Linked DNA regions of Homo sapiens: all the other regions are linked to region 4. The links are contacts of gene promoters, found by promoter capture Hi-C in blood cells and fetal thymus (Javierre and others, 2016). All regions are on one chromosome and are shown on one strand. The core of a region is centred on a gene start or on the middle of the fragment in contact, and the rest is flanking DNA. Distances in the headings are between cores, read along the strand shown.

Region 1 (3,149 bases), core at 536-3,035, 200 kb before region 4:
TGTACCCATTTGATGTATACATCTCGATGAGTTTGGGGATAAGTGTACACCCACGAAACCATCACTGGAGTTCATTTCTCTGTTATCAAGGACTAGCCAGTGGCAGTAGGGGTGGATGGAACTGTGTTTTCACATCAGGGAGAGTGTCCTCACCTTTGTTTGTGGTCTTAATCTGGGAGAAGGGTGGGGTGCACAGCTTATTTTTTCTATTGAGATGTACAGAAAGGTTTCCGCGTCCATGAAGGATAAACATGATAGAAAGCCACTTAAGTCGTGAAAGCCAATATCTAGCTTGGAATCCAAGAAGAATTAATTGATAACAAGGGTCATTAATCCCCAGAGCAGGATGCCACCAGCACAGATAATAGCATTTCAATTACTGGAGGGTTTCCGTCTATTAAAGCCTGCCTGTTTCTACAAGGCAGTGCTAACTAGCGCAGCCCCTAGGACACGGTCCCCCTTCCCTGCCGCCCATTGTACACAGCTCCCTTCATCCTTTGACCTCCAGAAACACTTACTGCCTATGTCCTGTCTTGTAGAGTGTGTATGTGTAGGCGTGTGTTAGGGACAAGAGAGATGGAGAGACAGAACCCCATTAGATCACAGAACTCTTAAAGCTAGAGAGCGATGTTCTATACTTTGCTTAGCTGTCTCTATTTAAATGCCTTTGTACATGTTTCTGTTACTATTACTCCTCTTACAATTAAAAATGTTTTAAAATAGCACAGTTAACACATGTTCATTGTAGAAAAAGCAGAAAAATCCTGACGAGCCACAAGAAACTAAAAAAAATCACCCATAACCCCTCTGCCCAGAAAGACTCCGTGTGCACATCTTTCCATGGTTCTTTTTGTTTGTTTTTTTTAAAAAAAAATCAGCCAAGTATTACATTCGTGCATGCAAACTGTTTAAAAAGTGTGGAATATAAGAGAGAAAGTGCTTATATTTTTCCTCCAATCCTTCACAGAGATAACCACTATTAACTGTTTAGTGTGAGTCTGTCAGAACTTGGTCCATATGAAACTCACCCAATTGTCCTATAGAACTGATGTTTATGGTTTCTTTGAATAAGCATAGAAACCGATCCTCCTAGCCTTAAAACTTGAGAAAGTTACAATTGTCTTATCAGAGTTCCTTTCTCAGGAAACCAGTCATCAGGCCTCCCAGATAGTATCAAGGAGCTAAAACTTACCAGGTCACTGCATTTGGACAATGAGATGTCAGTCCCCTCACAAGACATGATGGCCTAACTGACCACCTGCTTCCTGTTGACCTCCTCTTCCTTACACCTGTTTTCCCACACGTGGTTACATTTCTTCCCTGCTATATAAACCCCTGATTTTAGTTGGTCAAGGAGATGGATTTGAGACTGAGCTCCCATCTCCTCAGCTGCAGCACCCGATTAAAGGCTTCTTCCTTGGCAATACTCATTGTCTCAGTGATTGGCTTTCTGTGCAGCAAACAACAGGGCTTAGACCGAACCCCTCGTGTTCGATAACACATACATTGATAGACCTGTATGTGTATACAGCTATATATGTAGTATTAAAAAAAAAAAAAAGCCAGGCATGGTGGCTCATGCCTGTAATCCCAGCACTTTGGGAGGCTGAGGTGGGTGGATCACCTGAGGTCAGGAGCTCGAGCGCAGCCTGGCCAACATGGTGAAACGCCGTCTCTACTAATAGTACAAAAATTAGCCTGGTGTGGTGGCACATGCCTGTAATCCCAGCTACTCAGGAGGCTGAGGCAGGAGAATTGCTTGAACCCGGGAGGCGGAGGTTGCTGTGAGCTGAGATTGCATCACTGCACTCCAGCCTGGGCAACAAGAGTGAAACTCCATCTCCATAAAAAAAAAAAAAATAAAAATAAAAAATCCATAGACAAATTCATGCAATATGTACGTTTCTGTGATTTGGTTTTCTTTACCTATCCTAGAGAGCTGTACATATCAACTCGTTTAAATCTTCCTTATTTTCTTTGACAACTGGGTAACATTCTACTACATCAACAAATTGCAATTGGCAAGCCCACTCTTTCCTGATGGGTATTCAGGTCATTTCCAACTTATCACTAACACAAACCATACATCTTTGTCCACTTGTGCAAGTACTTTTGTGGGATAGATTCATAGAAGTGAAATTCTAGAGGCACTGTAATATGAAATTTAAATTTCGACAGAATTGTCAAATTCTAGGCTTTGCAGAGTAGCTCACGCCTGTAATCCCAGCACTTTGGGAGGCTGAGGTGGGAGGATTGCTTGAGGCCAGGAGTTTGAAACCAGCCTGGGCAACAGATGGAGACCCCATCTCTACCAAAAGATTAAAAATAATAAAATTAGCTGGGTGTGGTGATGCACACCTGTAGTTCTAGCTATTCGTGAGGCTGGGTGGGAGGATCACTTAAGCCAGGACTTCAAGGCAGCAGTGAGCCATGATGGTTCCACTGCACTCCTGCTTGGGTGACAGAATAAGACCCTTCTCTTAAAAATAAACATTTTCAGCCAGTCGCGATGGTTCACGTCTCTAATCCCAAGACTTTGGGAGGCCGAGGTGGGTGGAGGACCAGAGGTTGGGAGTTCAAGACCAGCCTGACCAACATGGGGAAACCCCATCTCTACTAAAAATACAAAATTAGCTGGCTGTGGTGGTGCAGGCCTGTAATCCCAGCTACTCGGGAGGCTGAGGCAGGAGAATCACTTGCACCCAGGAGGCAGAGGTTGTGGTCAGATGAGATCATGCCATTGCACTCCAGCCTGGGCAACAAGAGTGAAACTCCATCTCATAGATAAATAAATAAATAAATAAATGTCAAATTCCTCTCCAAAAAAGCTGTACCAAATTATACTTCTACTGGCAGTCCATGAGAAGATCTGATCCCTGTGCTATTGCCAAGAGTGGAAATGATCAATCTTTAATTTTGTGCATGTGCCCAATTTCGTGGGTGAGCGTGGTGCATCATTTTACTCTGTATTTCCCTGATTACTGCGAAGCTGAGCATCTTTTCGTGCGTTTATTGGCCATCAGCCTTCTTTCTATACATACGCACATACACACTTCTAAAATGTTTCACAAGGCTTTGTTATCATCTGCTTGTTTTCTCTACAGTACATCAAAAACGCCTTTCTATGTCAATGCACGCACACTTTTGCC
Region 2 (3,340 bases), core at 772-3,271, 240 kb before region 4:
GGACAGATCACTTGAGGTCAGGAGTTCGAGACCATCCTGGCCAACTTGGTGAAACCCCGTCTCTAGTATAAATCAAAAAATTAGCTTGGCGCGGTGGTGGTGACCTGTAATCCCAGGTACTTGGGAGGCTGAGGCAGGAGAATTGCTTGAACCTGGGAGGCAGACGTGGCAGGGAGCCGAGATGCCACTGTACTCCAGCCTGGGCAACAGAGTGAAACTCCATCTCAAAATAAATAAATAAATAAATAAGAGTGTGGATTTTACTCTAGGTCGGGGGGAAGGGGAACTGAAATTCACATAGGAACCACCTATGAATCACCTCCACCTATGAAGCTGTGGAATGAATAAATGATTTAGAAATAGTCTTCCATTTGCAAGCTTAGGCATCCAAGTCTTCGGCAATTGCATCCCTCTCTGATCCCCCTCCAGGACTCCTTACCTCTGTCACCCCGTGGGGCTTTTTGCATATATGCCTGTAAATGGTTATCAGAAGACCCTGGCTGAGGTCCTCTAGAGCTGCTGCACTGCCTAACTCCAGGGCGGTAGCAGTGGTCTCACTGTGTTCTCTGTCAGTGACACTCTTTGGCATGCAACATAGACTTGGATGAAATGGTGCTTCCTAGACCTGTGCAATTGGGGGTCCTGGCCTGCCTCTGATGCTCACTAATACATGACCTGAGCAAGTTGCGAGCTGCCTCTGGGTCTCTGTTTTATGGTGTATGAAAAGAGACCCTGCCACACCTACCTCCCAGGGTTGTTGAGCACTTCCAAAGAAGAATATCTCACTGCGGCCCTCGGATGTGCTTCAGGCATCAGCAGACACCCTGACATTTCATTAAAAAAGTGAGAGGTGTGTATGTGTGTGTGTGTTTGCTATGCAAGTGCATTTTCTACAAAAGAGAGGATCCAGGCCAGGTGTGGGGGCTCACGCATGTAATTCTAACACTTTGGGAGGCTGAGGCAGGAGGATCACTTGAGCCTAGGAGTTCAAGGCTAGCAGTCAGCCAAGGTGGCACCACTGCACTCCAGCCTGGGTGACAGAGCAGGACTCTGATTTTGTTTGCAGGGAGAAGAAGGTGCAAGAGAGGGGGAGGTGGGGGAGAGAGAGAGAGACAGAGAGAGAATCCAAGACTGTCTCCTCAGTTTCTCAAAGAGATCCATGATCCACCCAAGCTGAAAAGGTATTAAACACCTGGTAGTTGGAACTGCCTTGGCTCTTGAAGTTGCTCTCTTGCTCTGAAATCTGGTTCAACATTTGCATGTAGATGTTTTGTTTCCTCTCCGAAGTCTGTAAGCCGCTTTGCTTGGTGGGAGGGGGCTGCCTGCATTGGCATTGACTCTTGCCTCCCCACGTCACACCATGCTGACGCCTGGCTCCCATAAACCTGCCAAGCAGCAATCTGTCAGCCCAGGGCCAAGTCCTCCCCACTGTCCAAATTGGAGGACCCCAAGGCCCTTCCTGCTGCACCAATGGCCAAGAGTGGATGGAATGAGCGAAATCATTGTGTACTATCAGTGAGCTGGCGATTGCCTTACTCCTGCAAGGTAATAAGATGCCTTAACCCAGTTAAGAAGCTTCTGCAGGTTACCCCCAAGGAGCCATCGCTAATGCTGGAGATTGCTGGCACCATGGTAGGCCAAGGAGGAAGATGTTTCTGTTTTCAGGGAGAAGAAGATGCAAGTGCTTTTAACCTCCTCCCACCCACGCAAGGTTGACCCTGAATGGTTTATGTGTCTGTGTTACACACACATCCAGCATAGCACCCAGCACATTACAGGCACTTAACAAAAGTAGTAAATAAATAATGGTCCTTTCCAGCTCATATGCCCACCACACCCTCCAGAGATTGTAATGCAGTACACTCACCTCTCATCTAGCCGAATCTTAACTGCTTCCCCCACCTCTTCCTGACAAGTAATAAAGTTAATAATACCTTGTGTGGCTGTTGTATCTTTCTTCGCAAGAACTCCAAACACTTGGCTTCATCCTCATTTCTGAATTAGATTGAAAAGGGCTGGGGGTAAGAGGAAATCCTACTGACCCACACCCACTCCCACCTAATCGATGTTATTTCAGGGAAACTGAGGCCTAGTTAGGACAGGAAATTCTTCGTCCAGATCTGCAAGTCACAGGCAGGTGGGACTGCGAAAAAAGACCTCCCCTGCCCTATTCCCAGTCCTGAATTTAATCTGTCCTGAAACAATTGAAATCTTTTTTTGGCCCGGAGGCCAGGCAGATCTAATTCTGCTAATGTCTGATAGTCCTGCAGTTCTTGAGGTTTGGGAAAACCCCCTTGCTTGGGAAGCTACCCACGGGAAGAAGAGGTCTCTAACAGTATACAGCCAGAGACTGAGAGCTTACCTGCCACCTGGGACCACAGGGAGTGCAAATGAAGTTCCTGCCACACTCTCCAGGGGATATGAATCAGGGATTCAGGGTGGGCTTGGATCTACATGACAAGCTTTGACTTGCCTACCTTCCTGGGCTTCCAGAACAAAGCCTGTGGTGGTGAAAGGCTATATACAATGAAAGAGAGAGAGAAAAAAAAAAAGCATGCCCTGGGAAACCACCTGGCCTGCTCCTGGTTCCCATTAGCTGACTAACTCAAGGAGAAAGTGAGTTAGGAGTTTTTGGGCCTCTGTTGTTTCATCAATTAAATGGGTTTAATATTAATTGCCCTGTGTGCCCCGAGAGGTGATCAGGAGCATGAAGCAAAATAACAGATGGGAAAGTGCTTTGAAAAAATATCAGGTACTCTATTGAGATAACATTGTCGTGAACTTGGCAATGCAGGCTAGGCTGTCTGAGGATCACCTGCAGAACTTCAAAGCTGAAGGGGAACTCGGGGCTCAGAGGGGCCATCATTTTCTGGAAGAGGCCAGAAGAAGGGAAGTGGGTGTGGCAGGCTGAAAAATATCCCCCCTCACCCCAAAGATATCCCAATCAAATCCCTAGAACCTGTGAATGTTATCTGGATCAAGGGTCTTTGCAGACATGATTAGATCAATTTTCTTGAGATGAGGGGATCTCCCTGGATAACCCAAGTAGGCCCTAAATGCAATCACTCATATCCTTACAAATTAGACATGCAGAGAATGGACACACAGAGAAGCAGGGAAAGCAATGTGAAGACAGATGCAGAGATTGGAGTGATGAGTCCACAAGCCAAGGAACACCCAGAACTACCAAATTGGGAGGGGGCAAATGAGGATCTTCCCCTAGAACCCTCACGTTGGTTTCAGGCTTCTGGGCTCCAGAACTGTCAGCGAATACATGTCTGTTTTTCTAAGCCACCACTTTGTGGAAATTGATTACAGCAGCATTTGGAAACTGACACCA
Region 3 (3,428 bases), core at 307-2,806, 220 kb before region 4:
AAGGGGTCAGTTGTACTGCAGTAAGCTGGTTAACTAGCATTTGTCAGGCTCTCATGAATTGCTGAAATACAGCAATGGTGGCAGTAGGAGGGATCTAATTGCAAGGGCAAATATTTGTTCCTGTGGACAAGGAAATACGGAAGAGGGGCCCCTTTAGGAGTTTCCCAGGAGGCGTGGTGGCTCACGCCTACAATCCCAGCATTCTGGGAGGCTGAGGCGGGTGGATCATCTAAGGTCAGGAGTTCGAGACCAGCCTGGCCAACATGGCAAAATCCCATCTCTACCAAAAATACAAGAATTATCCAAGCGTGGTGGTGCATGCCTGTAATCCCAGTGACTGGGGAGGCTGAGGCAGGACAATCGCTTGAACTGCAGAGGTTGCAGTGAGCCAAGATCGTGCCACCGCACTCCAGCTTCGGGGACAGAGTGAAAGTCCATCTCAAAAAAAAAAAAAAAAAAAAAAAAAGTTTCCCAGGGAGGCAGTGAGGAATTAGAAAGCCATCGTAATCCATCATAGTTAGTCTTCAAAATGAAACTTGATTGGCCGAAATCAGACACTCAGCCTGTCTGAATGCTCTGATACTATGGACTTGACAAGTCAGGTCTTCCCCGAGTTCCAGCACTTCAGTTCCCCACGAGGAGGCCCAGAGACTAATAAAGCCCAAATAGTTAAAATCTCCAGAATCAGCAAATCCACACAGAAGACCTTACATCATCCGGCTCTGCGGGCTTCAGCTTCAGTGGCCGGTGTGGAGCGCTTTTCAATTGTCTCCATTCAGTTCCTCAAGTGGATCTCGTATGCCGAATGAGATCTTTATCATTTGTCACAGGGGTGATGCATGCTGGGCCTGCTACCGTGGAGTCAGTCCTGGCTGCATAAAGACATCAGCAGCTCGACAAGGCTCTCTCAGCCCCTGCCCTGTGCTGCTGTCTGGGCTGAGGATGCCAGAGCTCCCATGTCATTCACCTGTCCTGGAATGGGGCTGCCTCTTTTCTCATTTTAGCTACGCCCCTCCCAGTGTCAAAGTCAGAACCTCAGAGAAGCGATTTGGTCAGACTGGGTTCATCACAATTCAGCAAGTGGTTATTGATAGGTAGTGGACAGATCCGTGGGTCTGGGGGCTGGTCTCAGCTCTGCCACTTGCTGCCAAGTGCCCTCGGGCACATCGTTAGAGCTCTCCAATAGAAATGGAAATGAGAAAACCTCCCAGGATTCTTGAGAGGATGAAATGAACTAGAGAAAGCAGAGACCTAGGCAAGTCCATGACCGGTTCAGAATAGCATGTCCTGTCTCTAGCAAAATCCACACTATTAAGACATTTGACACAGGCCAGGCATGGTGGCTCACACCTGTAATCACAACAATTTGGGAAGCTGAGGTGGGAGGATGGTTTGAAGCAAGGAGTTCAGAACCAGCCTGGGCAATATAGCAAGACCCATTCTCTACCAAAAAAAAAAAAAATACAAAAAATAAAATTAGCTGGGTGTGGTGGCTCAAGCCTGTAATCCCAGCCCTTTGGGAGGCTGAGGTGGGAGGATGGTTTGAAGCAAGGAGTTCAAGACAAGCCTGGGCAACATAGCAAGAACCCATCTCTACAAAAAATTACAAAAAAATAAAATTAGCTGGGCATGGTGGTGAACACCTGTATTCCTGGCTACTTGGGAGGCTGAAACAGGAGGATCACTTGATCCCAGGAGTTTGAGGCTGCAGTGAGCTATGATCATGCTACTGCACTCCAGCTTGGGTGAAAAAGTGAGACCCTCTTTTGAAAAACAAACAAACAAAAAAAGACTTGTGACATAATATAGCAGTATTGATAAAAATACTTATGGACACAACAATTTGAATGTATGAAAAACCACTTGAACTATACACTTAAAATGGTTAAAATGTAAATTTTATGAGGTATTTTATACCTTTTATTTATTAAGAGACAGTCCCTCTATATTGCCCAGGCTAAACTCAAAGTCTTGAGCTCAAGCTATATTTCTGCCTCAGCCTCCTGAGTAGCTGGGACAATAGTTATGTGCCATCTTGCCTGGCATACACCATGATTTTTAAAAAGAACAATCACTTACTGAACAGTTATTACTTATGATTTTTGTTTTTGTTTTTGTTTTTTTTGAGACATGGTCTCACTCTGTCACCTAGGCTGGAGTGCAGTGGTGCGATCTTGGCTCACTGCGACCTCTGCTTCCTGGGTTCAAGCAATCCTCCTGCCTCAGCCTCCTAAACGGCTGGGAGTACAGGCACCCAACACCACATCTGGCTAATTTTTGTATTTTTGGTAAAGATAGGGTTTTGCCATGTTGGCCAGGCTGGTCTTGAATTCCTGACCTCAAGTGATCCACCTACCTTGGCCTCCCAAAATGCTGGAATTACAGGTGTCAGCCACCATGCCTGGCCCAATTATTACTTTTTTTTTTTTTTTTGATGGCGTCTTGCTCTGTCACCCAGGATGGAGTCTGGTGGTGTGATCTCGACTCACTGCAACCTCCACTTCCCAGGTTCAAGTAATTCTCCTGCCTCAGCCTCCCTAGTAGCTGGGACTACAGGCGTGCGCCATCACGCCCGGCAAATTTTTTGTATTTTTAGTAGAGACAGGGTTTCACCATGTTGGCCAGGCTGGTCTTGAACTCCGGAGCTCAGGCAATCCACCGACCTCAGCCTCCCAAAGTGCTGGGATTACAGGCATGAGCCACCGCACCTGGCCCAATTATTACTTTTAAATGGCAAAAACCGCAATTACTTTTGCACCAACCTAATACTCTGTGCTAGGTGTTTCACCTGTATTTAATCCTCCAAGAACTCCATCAGGTGGAAGACATTATGTCCAATTTAAAGATGAGGAAATGATTCCCAAGCAGCCACCCAAACTGGCAAGCAGCAGAGTTGGGGTTCAAACTATGTCCATCCGACTCCTAAATCCACACTTTAACCTTGACATTTTAATGTCTTTTTTGCCAAAAGGTGGTATTGTTGGGTTCCTATTCAGTCCATCAGAGAAGCAGCTCCATTCATACATGCAGTCATCTGACTTCAGTGAGTACCTGATCGGTGCCAGGGACTACGTTAGCTTCGAAGGAGACAAAGATGAATGACACCCTAAGGGTACTCCTATCATAGGCTAAGGCAGCAAACAGGCAGGGGAATAAACACAATAATGAGTCCTTTAGGAGCCGAGAGAGTTGTAAACAGAGAACCAGGAGGAGGGAAGTCTTCACAAAGAAAGGAACATCTGAGTTGAATTTTGTTTTATGTTGTTTTTTGTTTCGAGACAGAGTCTCCCTCTATCATCCAGGTTGAGTGCAGTGGCGTGATCTTGGCTCACTGCAACCTCCCTGGTTCAAGCAATTCTCCTGCTTCAGCCTCCTGAACAGCTGGGACTACAGGTAAGCATCACCACGCCCAGCTAATATTTTTTATT
Region 4 (3,275 bases), core at 245-2,744:
GATAATACACATTATAACATGTTGCTCATGAGTTTTGCTTTAGCAGTATTTGTGGTAGTTCCAAAACTCAGTTCACGTGTCTTAAGACTTCTCTTATTATACACTCTCATCTCTTCCCTGCTTTCTACTCTTCCTTTTTTTTTTTTTTTTTTTTTTTGAGACAGGGCCTCTCTCTGTCACTCAGGCTGGAGTACGGTGATGCGACCTCGGCTCACTGGGCTCACTGCAGCCTCTGCCTCCAGGGCTCAAGTTATCCTCCCACCTCAGCCTTTCGAGTAGCTAGGGCTACAGGCACATGCCACACTACGCCTGGCTAATTTTTGTATTTTTGTATTTTATTTTTTTTGTCATGACGGGGGTTCTTGCTACATTGCTCAGGCTGGTCTTAAACCTCGGCTAGGATTACCGGCGTGAGCCACTGTGCCAGCCATCCACTCTTCCTCTTTTAGCTTAATCTACCTGAAACAGCTGATTGTTCCATGTTTGGAGGCGTATTAGTGAAGACATTGTTTTCTCCTCCCCCTTTTCGGGGATCCATTTCTTGAGGACTGGGAGAGCTTCTCTTCATAGCAGCACTCCTCCGGACTCCCAGGCCATATACACTCAGGAAATGTTGGTTATCCAATGAATGACGCCAGGAAGAAGGGTCTGCTCCCAACACGGCCTTAGCACAGTGCCTGGAAGTTATAACAGATTCTGGCACACAGCAGGAGCTCAGGAAACATTTATGTAATGAATGAATGAATGAATGAATGAGTGCACACAGTAACTAGGAGTAAGGGCTCAATAAACATTTCTGTATTAAACGCACAGTGTCTGGAACACAGTAAGCGCTCCGTCTATGGCAGCCGTGAATATCCCTGGGCGAAGCCTGTGAAACCTTGTCCAAGAGCTTGGCTTCACTGTGCGCGGGTTCGAATCTGGACTCCTCTTCCCAAGTGTGCGACCTCGGGCAAGTGATTTAATCCCTTTGTGCTTTAGTTTTCTCCTCTGCAAAAGGCGGACGGCGGCGCGAGCCTCTGAGGACACATTCCCCAGGGCACTCGGACCCGCTGCCTGGCCCACATCGCGGCCGCCGCGCCACGCCAGCCGGCCTGGGCTGCGAGGGCACAGGCCGGGGGTCCCGCGCCCTCCTCCGCGGCCACCACGGGCGCGCCCGGGACCCACGGTCCCGCCCCGCCACGATCAGTGCACCGCGAGGGGGCGGGGCGGCCACGAGGGGCAGCCCACGGCAGCCACGGGCCGGCAGTCCGCCGCCCGCCGGGGAGCCCGGCCGCCCGCACTTCTTTCTCTCCCTCTCTGCCTCCCTCCCTCCCTCTTCCCGGCCGGAGGACCCGGCCGCGCTCAGCTCAGCAGCGCCTCCCGCGAGCCGCCGCCGCCGCCGCCACTCCGGACCCCTCCCCCGCCCGCCCCTCGCTCCCCCCGCGCGGCCGGCGCCCGTCACGTGACCAAGCGCCAGCCAATGGCGGGCCGAGCCGCGGTCGGCGGCCGCCATTGCTGTCAGAGCAAGCGAGCCCGGGGAGGGAGGAGAAGCGAGGCTGACTGGGGAGGAGGGGGGGGTGGGGGAGGAAGAGGAAGGAGGGGACGTCGCTCGGCTGCCGGGGTCGCCCGCTGGCTTCGTCCGCACCCCCCCCTTCGCGAGTTCGCGCTCCGCGGCGGCGGCGGCTCCGAGGCGGCGGCGGCGGCTCCGGGGCTCGCCTCCCCTCGCGCGCCGGCGGGGGCCGAGGGGGAGTCGGTGGCTGGAGATAAACAAGGCGGCGGCAGCGGCAGCAGCGGCGGCGGCGGCGGCTGAGGAGCAGGGAAGGCGGAGGCGGTGGCCGGCCCGCAGCGCCGGCCCGGGGCGCGCGCCCCCCCCGCCAGCCCGGGCCCGCTGCCCCCGGCGCGGCGTCGCCGCGGCGCCTCCCGCCTGCCCGCCGGCCCTCGCGCCCTCCCCCGGCGGCGGCGGCGGCCCGGCCGCCCCGCGCTCCCCGGCGAGGCGCCGCCGCCCGGCCCGGCCTCGCCTCGGACGCCTCGCTCCGACATGCCCCGCTCTGGCGGCCGGGCTCGCGGAGGATCATGACTGCGGCAGCGAACTGGGTGGCGAACGGGGCGAGCCTGGAGGATTGTCACTCCAACCTCTTTTCGCTGGTGAGTAGCCGGGCTGCGGGGAGGGGGCTGTGCCGGGGAAGGGGGGGGGTCCCCGACCTCCGCCGCCGACCAACTTTCTCCTCCCGCCGCCGGGACTTCGCCCCTCCCTCGCGTCTCCCCGCCGTTCGCCTCTCGCCGATTCTCCCCCTTTTGGATCGTCTCTCTCTCGCCTTGGATCCCATCCAGTGTTTATTTGGCTCTTTAAAAATCATTTGTGAGCGCGGCGCTCGGCGTGGAATTTGCATGTGGAAGTCTCGGAGCTGCGGATTCTGGGTCGCACTTCGAACGCCCACCCTCTGTTGCAATCGCACTCCCCTTCTCCTCCCCTTTCCCCCCTTTTTTTCCCCCCGTAAATGTGGAAGGCTTTGCCTTGTGCTGCCGCGCCTCCGATCGGCAACCTCTTCCCCCGTTGTTGGATCAGCTGCCTGCCCGCCCGCCTGCCTTTTGAATTTTTTTAAATTCCATAATGACACCTGCAATTTCGCCCTAAAATAGTTGATTGAATGCGATTGTGTCAGGAAAGGACTCTTGCACCCGAAGCTCCCGCGATTGTAAACATCGACAGCCGCCTGCCTCTCGGGGCTTACTATGCTGGAGAGCCGTAAAGCCATTGCACCGAGCCGACGGAAGGTGGAGAAAGCTTTTTCTTCTTTCTCTCCTCCTGTGTCTTTTAAAAACTGTTTTTCTCTATCCTAACAACGAATCCGCACACACACACACACACACACACACACACACACACACACACACAAAAGCAACAAGCTGGTCGGTTTGATAACATCGCTTTTATCTGCCTTCGCCTCTCTCGCGCTCTCTCTTTCTGATAATTGACAACTTTTCCTTCGGATTTGAATCGCCTGCCTTAATCTTGAAGCAGTTAGGGTGTCAATTGTTCTCGTGGAAGCCTGGCACCCGCCGACGGTGTCTAGATTCATCGAAATTAAAAATGTATAGGGCTCCAGCAACTCTTTTCCTGGCGGTGTCAGTGACATTTGGTGGTAAATGCCATCTTTGCTTTTTATTGGGTCGTATTACCTACCTCTGAAAACATTCACGTTGTTAAACCTGGCGTTTAGGCTAATAATTGCAGTGCGTGGTCTTTAAATATGTGCTTTGTGCATGAGTTACTGTATGTATAGCTATGTGCC
Region 5 (3,313 bases), core at 592-3,091, 190 kb after region 4:
TCCCCTCTCCTCTTTTCTTTTCTTTCTTTTTTAAGCAAGGGGTTAACTTTGGCTGAATTCAGATTCCAAACTATTGTCTCTTTTGTGGTGGGCAGAAGCTGAAATTTCTTTACTTCTTTTATCCTAGGGTTTCTCAGCCTTGGCACTGTTGATTCTTGGGCTGGATAATTGTGAGAGCTGTCCTGTGCATTGTAGGATTTTCAGCAGCATCCCTGATCTCTCCCTACCTGATGCCAGTCACACCCTCCTCCCTCAGTCGTGACAACCCAAAATGTCTCCAGATAGTGCCAGATTTTCCTTGGGAGGGCAAGTCACCCCTGGTTGAAAACCACTGTTTTAGCCTTCCGAGGGCTGTTGAGAGCCTGCACCATGCACATAGTGTAGGAATTGGCCAGAGATTTGGGCAGAGTTTGTGTCTTTGATTCTCTTCTTTCCAGAATTTCTATTCTCATTTTCAGCAGCTGTGGTCTCTTTAACTCAGTCCTCTGGTTCTTTGCCACTAAGAACCAAGGTCGGGTTTCTGTTAGTTTTAGCTGTTGTGGTTCAGTCTGCCCTATGCTACAAACTGTTTAAAAAGGGGGGTGGAGGGGTAGGTGGACAACTGTGATGAGAATGAGGATGATTGATTCAGTGCCATTTCCTCCTTCTGGTGGTAAACTCTTTCCCCTCCCCCAGGATCTTCCTGCATTTGGTAACTCAGGTTTTTGCAGATTTTAATATCTTCTTCATAATTTATAGTTGTTATTTAAAGGGAGTGTCATGTTGGAGTGGAAGGAACTACTTTGTACTACTGGATGGGGAACCTGATACGTATTTTAGGATGTAAAACTTGACGTTGCATACCATCCTTTGTCAAGGAGGGTACCATCTTTTAAAAAATGTATAGACATAAAAGATCTTTATTATATATTTGGAGTTAACATTTATATAAAACCTTTTCCTGATGCACTTTTAGTGCTCTATACAAATGTTTCTTAACAGCCCTTATGAACTTTTTTTTGCAGAATGAGGTAGGATGATGAGAAATGAGACAGACCAGTAAGAGGAAGGAAGGTCTGGGAGGTGACCAAACAAGGCTGAAAGGCAGATGATAGGATTGTAAGGGGAATGGAGGCGATTGAGGGATGGCTGCCTGTTTGATTCGTAGTGTGCTGTTAGTAAATGGGGTCCTTTCTTTGAAAAGTGTGATCACACTTGGTAAAATTTTCTGACTGTGGCATCTGTGTAGCAACTTGGCAGCAGGGGGAAAGCATTGTAGATTAGAGTTAGATTTCAGAACATTTCTCTTTCGACAAGAATATTCATTTCTGGAAAGATGGTTAAGAATACAGTTTCATATTTTTGCTTTTGGTTGACTTTACACTTTTTTTTCTAACATTTTTTTCCTCATTAGTTTAAGGAAACAATTTAAAATGTTAAGAAAAAGATTACATAAATTCTATTAAGCTTGAAATTACTCACTTAAGCTTGCCTTTTTTGTGATGAATTTTATGGTATTGAATAAGATAGCATAAATAAAGTAGCTAATACAGAACCTAACATCTGGTTATTGTGTAATGGTAGCTGTTTGCTATTAGTAGTGAAACTGGTGGTAGTAATATTTAGAAAAAAATAAGGAGAATTTTTTATGATGTTGGTAATTTCTTGTACTAGAGAAAGCTTGCCAATCAAATATTTGTGAATCAGTTTTTATATACACAATTTGCATTAAATAAGGTAGGTGTTTCTACTATAAATCTTTCTACATAATGGCAATATAAGAAATGTCATATCGTATACTGATTTTACCCCTAAAATAATGACATCAGCTGTTTTCTAATTTTAAAGAAGTAGTCTTACCAAATGTTTGAAATCACCATGATTTTGGTATGAATTTGAAAATATGGTGTTTACTAGCATTGTGGTTCTGTTGCTATCCTTTTATGGAGTCAAAGGAAAAAATTTTGAAAATGCATAATGTATATTATAACAATATGACTATTTGTTGTGGAGTGTTAAATGATGTTATAAAAATAAAGCTTTTAAGTATGGTTCGTAGAAATTATTAGATCTGTCTCTGAGAACCTGTTAAGTGTGGCTTGCATGCTTCATTTAGGATTTTATTAACAGTTGTATAAGATTGAAGTATAATAGCTTGATATTTATGGTTAAAGAATATCATGGGGCGGGCACAGTAGCTCACGCCTGTAATCCTAGCACTTTGGGAGGCCGAGACAGGCAGATCACTTGAGGTCGGGAGTTTGAGACCAGCCTGACCAACATGGAGAAACTCCGTCTCTACTAAAAATACAAAATTAGCTGGGCGTGGTGGTGCAAGTCTGTAATCCCAGCTAGTCAGGAGCTGAGGCAGGAGAATCGCTTGAACCCGGGAGGCGGAGGTTGCAGTGAGCTGAGATCCCACTGTTGCATTCAAGCCTGGGCAACAAGAATGAGACTCTTGTCTCAAAAAAAAAAAAAAAAGAATTATCGTGGAAAACTGCTAAATTAAAATACTACATTTTACGGAAACTGTGGAGCTGCCTCCTTGATAGAATGTTAGGTCTGTTTTTGTTGTCTTCTGCCTATGTCTCTTGACTTGTAGTTTCTTTTGTTTCAAATCACTCTGCCCTCGTATATACTTTGGTTAGACTACTTTTGGTGAAGCACTCTCCAATAGAAGAACATAATGTGGTGTCAATTGTGTAGGGATCGCCCAAGCGTTGTCTAGCATTTCTGCTCCCCAGCAGAAGCCATTTTATCCAGCCAGAGTTGTCCTTCACAGTTCTAGCATAGTCTAAACTCATTTTCTCATTGTTCATATTCTTTCTCTCCCACCCACTCTGTCTTCCCTGGCAATTCAAGTTAAATTCCATCTCTCTTCTTTGAGTTGCTCCCCTGAAGTAAGATTTCTGTTTCTTCTGGCATTTTACCTCTAAATTTATCAATAACATGTTTATTCTGCTGTTCTTAATGTCGTGTGTGTGTGTGTGTGTGTGTGTGTGTGTGTGTGAGTGATTTTAATCTTCTCTTGAATTTAGAAGATGAGAATTTAGTCTTTCTCCTTTCCCCATTCCTACATTACTCCTAAATTGAATCTTTAATATAAAATCATTTATTTTAGTTTCCAGTGTACATCATAATTTTACCTTTTTTTCTACTCAGGATCTATAATTCCCAGCACAAAAGGTTGGATTAAACTGAATAGGACATACTTTTCCTTTGTAAATCTATTTCATATGCTTTAGGATCAAAATGGTAAATGAGGTTTGAAAAGTAATCTAACATAAAACAAAAATTGGGTTATGTCATTAAAATAGAAATAGTCTCTTCACCA
Region 6 (3,046 bases), core at 448-2,947, 230 kb after region 4:
TGATACAATAGCAACTCTGAACTGGATCCCGTTTGGTAATCCTAATGTTTATGATGTTATTTACTTGAAAATTTGTTATGTTAATGTTGGTCAAATTATGTTAAATATGAGGTTTATAGCAGAGCATTTTTCACCACATATATACTATTACCAGATACGCTGTGACTCATATTTTATGTCATACCATAGTTTTCAGTACAGACTGTCCATAGATTAAATAATTAGTTACAAGTCCACAGGGGCTAGTAAAGGAAGAGCTCCTACCAAATCAGAGGCAGTTAAGAAGCACCAAAGACCCCCATCTAGAAGCCGAGTACAGCCTCTGCTAGCAAGAGGATGGGAGGGAATTTTTCAGAGCAGCTCAGACAGGAGCTGAGCATGAGAGAAGGGCAGTTTGTGGATGTGCTGAGGCTTTCATTTGTTGTCTCAGCCAGGGGGACTCAGTACTATGTAGGCCCAGGATTGGGATGACCAGATTAAAAGCAGAGAAGAGAAAGGAAAGGAACACCAGTGTTCAAAAGGATTTTAGGCATTTTATTATCGTTTTGAACATTATTCTATACTGAATCCAGAAAGAACATGTAATATTTTCCATCTTTGGATTTACTGCCTGAGAAAGTCACTAAAATATAACGGTGCATTTTACCCAAACAAATAAATAGAGAAGGAGGGGCCCCCTCTTTTCCTTGCATTTAACTCCTTGGATTTATGTGTGTTTTGTAGTTATCTGTAGGGTCTCTTACTATACCCTTTTTTGCATATACAGTTTGCATACCATTTGACAGACATAACTAGACAGAGGAGTATGAATGGATCCACCCAAATTTACCAAGCCACCATGAAAATGACACAAGACTCATCCTGTTGACAGTAGCTTGTTAGCTGATACAACTTCATATTCTAGGGATGAGATGATTTTTGATGATGAGCTTTGGTTCACTTGTTTAATCTTGATTAGTGGTGTTCTGTTCTATTCTGAGGCTTAAAAAAGAAACAGAAGACTTGGGTTCTTTCCAGATGTTTCTTTGATGTGACTTTTCCGGGGATTAGTGAGGATGACAATATTTTTCTACCTGATGATTATTTGCGGGTCATAGTTGTCTACCAGATTCTCAAATGTTGTCTCAGCTCACATGCTCAGAGAAATATTCCTTCAGTGAGATAATCTAGCCAGGCTTTTGAATCTGTCTTTAGATGCTGTTGTGTGTTCTTAGGAGTTAGGATTTCCACCTATAGTATGGCCTCTTTTTTCACTCTTCTTCCCACTAGTATCACAGAGCTGGTCTTAAACTTTGACCATTTGATTTCTCTGTGTTGGTGTGAAGTGAACACAGAGCTAACATTCACTTGCGCTTTCTTTCGTGTGGAGTTGTTTGAACTGGCAGAGCTCCTGAGTCAGCAATACATTCGGGTTATGCCAAGATACAGACTTCACTTTTCTCAGTGCTGAATCTACATAGAAACTTAATTGGTTAATTTTTTTGAAAACACTTACTTATGGAACATTTGAAAAGTGCTTAAGTTGGCTTTGAAATTTCTGAAACTAAATCCTGCATTTGTAATCCATGGGGTGGGCACTAGAATACCAAGTTGATTTATTCTTGTGATTAAGATCCAGGAACAAAAAAGAGGACCTCCTTCTCTTGCTGTTGGTTAAAATAGAGCTAGCATATAGTACAATGGCGTTATTCTTGGTCACATGAACTCTTAATGCTTTCTTGACACATTTGTTTAGAGAAAATATTCTTAAAACATGGACATCTGCTTTATATGCAGTGGTAAGAATCTTTAGACTACACATGAATATTACATTGAATTAACCCTATTAATTAGGCTTCTGAGTTGTTCTAGGAAAAGGACTCAGCTTTGTGGCAAAGTGCCAAACATATGCCAGTTTGAATAAAATACATGCCTTTCTATTACTTTTCCCCTTCCCCACTGTTTGAGCATCATCAAGTCATTTGCTTTAGGTTGGGATGGAGAAGAATCTGCCAGTGCGTAGGGGTATGGATTGAGCTGAGTGGCTTTATTCCTGGATATCTATTTATACATAGTCAAGATAAATAGATACATGCATGCACACATACTATGAAAAGCCAGATGAAGAGTATACTCTTGGTTCCCAGTTTAACTTGCCTGCTTTTATTAAGAAAAATGTGACACATGTACTGATTATCCTAACATGTTTTAGAGCATGTTTTACTTTTTGTATTAGATTTCTCTGATAATGCATTTCTTTTTCTGTTACTAAACATGATTAATGTACCACATAGTGTTAACTGTGCTCTTTCCCCCAAAGACATCAAATGGGAGGCAGCATGTAGAAGCTAAATTATTCGGAGAGGAGTCAGTGATTGATTTAAATATAAAAGGATTAATTGGTCCCTGAACCAGACTATTAAACTGTACTGTGATCTTGACTGAAAGTGGAAGAATTACAAGTGCATTGCATAGAATAAATTAATACATTTTTCGTGGCTTTAATCCTTTTTTTTCTGTATTGCTTATTGTGGTTTTATGTACTGTACTCTATTGTATGCATAATTGATGCAGAAGGGATTCAGAGTATCATGATTAAATGGGAGAGGGGGATAGAACCATTCCTGAGGTTTAAGGTGGTACAGTTCTTCTTCCAGGATAGCTGAATGTATCTCCACAGAATGAATATTTCTTGGAATTCTTACCAGTGATGACCCCAGGCACAGAAAGAAGTTAAATGTTACTGAATAAAAAAATTAAAAGTTTACGTTCTGTGAGGGCTTTGTTTAACATGAACATCGGCTAACAGTGGGTAAATATAGCCCTTTATCCTTGAAAGAATTGAACTGAGACTTCAGCTCTTGAGGGTAAACAGTGTAATGGCACCATACCCAGATAAAATTTCCTTCTTTTTATAATTATTTCTATTCAAACAATACTGATTTTTCTCATTCCACCTCATAGGCTAATACTTCAGTCAGACAGGATGCTGGGTTTTTTTTTACGCTATCAGCCTCATCTGTCCTTTCCAGGGAGAAGAAATGTGTGTTTATTCACCTCTGTTATA
Region 7 (3,037 bases), core at 116-2,615, 210 kb after region 4:
GTTTGTCTGGGTACAATCTGTGTTGTTTGTACAGCAATGAAATCACTTAGTGATGCTTTTCTTAGAAGGTACTTCCATTGTTGCTTGACTGTATATACATATAGACACATATATTTATTTTAAAGCGGACTATATGCCACACATTGTGCTAGATGCTGGGGATGTAACAGTGGACAAAATGGATGGGGCCCTTGTCCTCATACCATTTATAGTTGAGTCATGCTCTACAATGTGGAGATTGGGTACATAATGGTGTGACGAGTCTCAGTGCCGTACCAGTGTCAGATGGAAGAGCTGTAAGGAGAAGAAGCTGCCCTTTTGGCAGTATAGTACCGTAGAAGGTTTAGTTGCTTTGTTGTGTGTTTAAGCAGTCTTCCTTGTTTGCCTTCACCAAAGTAGCTCACTGTTAGACTTGCTGAGTATTAATGAGACCCTGGGAACTCCCTTCTCCAGCTGAGACATCAAGTAAGCTGTTGTTAAAGCTTCTTGCTTTCGGTCATACTTTCTTCCCCAGGCATCTGGGGCCCCAGATTCCAAATTTTTTAGGAACAGAGAAACTTAATCAAATTGACCTCTTTTCATAAGAAATAAGTACAGCTGGCCCTCCATATCGGTGGGTTCTGCCTCCAAGGATTCAACCAACCACAGATTGAAAATATTTTTAAAAAGTACGTCTGTACATACTCGGTTGGCTAAGTCTGAGTATGTACAGACTTTTTTCTTGTAATTATTCCCCCAATAATACAGTCTACTATTTACATAGCATCTACATTGTATTCAGTATTGTAAGTAATTTAGAGATGATTTGAAGTATGCAGGGGGATATGTGTAGGTCGTATGCAAATACTAGACTTTTTTTTTTTTTGAGACGGGGTCTTGTTCTGTCACCCAAGTGCAGTGGCACATTCGTGGCTCACTGCAGACTCAACCTCAAGGTTCAAGTGACCCTCCTACCTCAGCCTCCTGAGTAGCTGGGACTACAGGCATGTGCCACCACACCTGGCTAATTTTTTTATTTTTTATTTTTTGTAAAGGTGGGGTTTTGCCACATTGCCCAGGATGGTCTCCAACTCCTAGAGTCAAGCAATCCGGCCACCTCACCATCTCAAAGTGCTGGGATTATAGGCACAAACCATGCGCCCAGCCCAGACCATTTTATATAAGGCACTTAAGCATCTGTGGATTTTGGTATCTGTGTGGGGGCCCTGGAACCAATCCCCCGTAGGTACAGTGGGATGACTCTACCACTGTTTATATTTTTGTATTAGTAATATCACAACAGTACCATAATGATACTAAGTATTAGAAAAATTTTAAAGGTGTGTATTTTGATAAACAGTTTTTTTCCTTGGAGGTAGTGGTGGTTAAAAAAGGCTTTTGCCTGATGAGTCTTAAGGCTTATAATAACCATTTATCTAGGTCAGTGAGAGTCAGTTTTGGAGGTACATAAAACTAGATTATTAATACTCGAAGGAAACAGTGGCTTAGATATCCAAACAATGCTTTTTGATTTGGTTTGTTTGTTTGTTTGAGACAGGGTCTTGTTCTGTTGCCCAGGCTGAAGTGCAGTGGCACGATCACAGCTCACTGTAGCCTGGATCTCCTGGGTTCAAGGAATCCTCCCACCTCAGCCACCCAAGTGGCTGGGACTAGAGGCACAGGCTACTATGCCCAGCTAATTATTTTTATTTTTATTTTTAGTGGAAAGGAGGGCTCCCTGTGTTGCCCAGGCTGGTCTTGAACTCCTGAGTTTAAGGGATCCTCTGCACTGGCCCAAAACAATGCTTAATTTTTTTCCTCCCTCAAGCCAGTTATATATGTATTATCTACTATCAGTACAAAAAAGTGGTCTTCTGGGCTGCCCAGGGGCTAACACAGACCTTGCTCTTATGGATGAGACTGGGCGGGGAAAGAAGACAGAAATGCCCTAAATTGGATATCAAATAGCCAGCTGCTGTGCTAAGGGCCTGGGTGGGCATTGCAGAGTAAGATTGTTTTGGGCTGCGTTGAGCCTCCAAGAATGATCTACAACTTATTTTGAGAAATAAAGTAGACAAAAAGGAGGAAGAGCCAGTATTTTGGAAGAAAGCAGCAAAGACACAAAAGCATCTCCACTTGGGTACAGGACATCTTGTACTTTACAGATTTGATTGGCATAGAGAAAGCAGCTTTCAGCCAGGGTCTGAAGACCTCTGGGACTCCATGTTGTGTGCTGGTCTGTGAGGCCATCTCAGTGAAAAAAGCTTTCACTCCAACCTGGGCCACTTTGGTGTTTTCCCCCTCTGTTTTAAAAATATACTGAGGCCGGGTGAGTTGGTCGGATCACAGGGTCAAGAGATCGAGACCATCCTGGCCAATATGGGGAAACCCTGTCTCTACTAAAAATACAAAAATTAGCTTGGTGTGGTGGCGCATGCCTATAGTGCCAGCTACTCAGGAGGATGAGACAGGAGAATCACTTGAACCCGGGAGGTGGAGGTTGCAGTGAGCCAAGATCGCGCCACTGCACACCAGCCTGGCAACAGAGTGAGTCTCCATCTCAAAAAAAAAAAAAAAAAACACAGAGAGAGAGAGAGAGACACTATTCTATTCATTTCCTATGAAGGTAATATTGTTCAATAGAAAACCAATAGAGGGAGGTTGAGGTGGGCAGATTGCTTGAGCTCAGGTGTTCGAGACAAGCCTGGCCAACATGGTGAAACACTGTCTCTACCAAAAATACAAAATATTAGCTGGTCTTGGTGATTCATGCCTATGGTCCCAGCTACTCTGTAGGTTGAGGTGGAAGGATCACTTGAGCCTGGGAGGTGGAGGTTGCAGTGAGCTGAGATTGCTCCACTGCACTCCAGCCTGGGTGTCAGAGCAAAATCCCATCTCAAAAAAACAAAAAACTGCACTACAGGCATGCACCACCATACCCAGAAAAAAGAAAATCAATAGAAGAGAATTGATTCAAGGTATTAATGTTAGCATGTGACTGTAATAGTTCATAATTTGGATTTCGGATAGAATTTTCCTTCCTTTTTTTTTTTTTTTT

What was found. The method cuts DNA at HindIII sites, captures the fragments that hold promoters and counts their contacts. A CHiCAGO score of 5 or more calls a contact.
Region 1: a fragment that was not itself captured here is called in contact with the fragment with the promoter of MED13L in region 4 in 15 of 17 cell types (monocytes, naive B cells, neutrophils and 12 more); the score reaches 18.6 in monocytes.
Region 2: a contact is called between a fragment that was not itself captured here and the fragment with the promoter of MED13L in region 4, in 15 of 17 cell types (monocytes, M0 macrophages, naive B cells and 12 more). The highest score is 21.0, in monocytes.
Region 3: a fragment that was not itself captured here is called in contact with the fragment with the promoter of MED13L in region 4 in 8 of 17 cell types (monocytes, naive B cells, total B cells and 5 more); the score reaches 13.9 in monocytes.
Region 5: a fragment that was not itself captured here is called in contact with the fragment with the promoter of MED13L in region 4 in 6 of 17 cell types (monocytes, naive CD4 T cells, non-activated CD4 T cells and 3 more); the score reaches 9.3 in monocytes.
Region 6: a contact is called between a fragment that was not itself captured here and the fragment with the promoter of MED13L in region 4, in 13 of 17 cell types (neutrophils, monocytes, naive B cells and 10 more). The highest score is 12.8, in neutrophils.
Region 7: a fragment that was not itself captured here is called in contact with the fragment with the promoter of MED13L in region 4 in 16 of 17 cell types (naive B cells, naive CD4 T cells, total B cells and 13 more); the score reaches 16.6 in naive B cells.

What each region holds. Positions count from the first base shown.
Region 1 is chr12:116,476,684-116,479,832 of GRCh38, reverse strand. No RefSeq gene overlaps it. Among named protein-coding and RNA genes, the nearest start is that of LINC02457, 38 kb to the left of the region's middle. The HindIII fragment of the contact is 5,605 bases long and covers 1-3,149 here.
Region 2 is chr12:116,516,913-116,520,252 of GRCh38, reverse strand. LINC02457 (long intergenic non-protein coding RNA 2457) reads right to left here. Exons shown (of 3, transcript XR_001749339.3): 2 at 2,363-3,340; 3 at 1-1,995. Among named protein-coding and RNA genes, the nearest start is that of LINC02457, 2.8 kb to the right of the region's middle. RefSeq lists enhancers at 883-1,383, 1,384-1,884. The HindIII fragment of the contact is 887 bases long and covers 1,578-2,464 here.
Region 3 is chr12:116,499,778-116,503,205 of GRCh38, reverse strand. No RefSeq gene overlaps it. Among named protein-coding and RNA genes, the nearest start is that of LINC02457, 14 kb to the left of the region's middle. The HindIII fragment of the contact is 6,891 bases long and covers 1-3,428 here.
Region 4 is chr12:116,275,912-116,279,186 of GRCh38, reverse strand. It overlaps MED13L (mediator complex subunit 13L), which reads left to right and starts at 1,494. Exons shown (of 31, transcript NM_015335.5): 1 at 1,494-2,127. The coding sequence starts at 2,056. RefSeq lists silencers at 1,086-1,145, 1,196-1,665. The HindIII fragment of the contact is 4,130 bases long and covers 1-2,769 here.
Region 5 is chr12:116,085,431-116,088,743 of GRCh38, reverse strand. The region is part of intron 4 of MED13L (mediator complex subunit 13L); the gene reads left to right. Among named protein-coding and RNA genes, the nearest start is that of MIR620, 62 kb to the left of the region's middle. The HindIII fragment of the contact is 359 bases long and covers 1,662-2,020 here.
Region 6 is chr12:116,042,702-116,045,747 of GRCh38, reverse strand. The region is part of intron 4 of MED13L (mediator complex subunit 13L); the gene reads left to right. Among named protein-coding and RNA genes, the nearest start is that of MIR620, 100 kb to the left of the region's middle. The HindIII fragment of the contact is 7,745 bases long and covers 1-3,046 here.
Region 7 is chr12:116,062,011-116,065,047 of GRCh38, reverse strand. All of the region lies in intron 4 of MED13L (mediator complex subunit 13L), which reads left to right. Among named protein-coding and RNA genes, the nearest start is that of MIR620, 85 kb to the left of the region's middle. The HindIII fragment of the contact is 1,761 bases long and covers 485-2,245 here.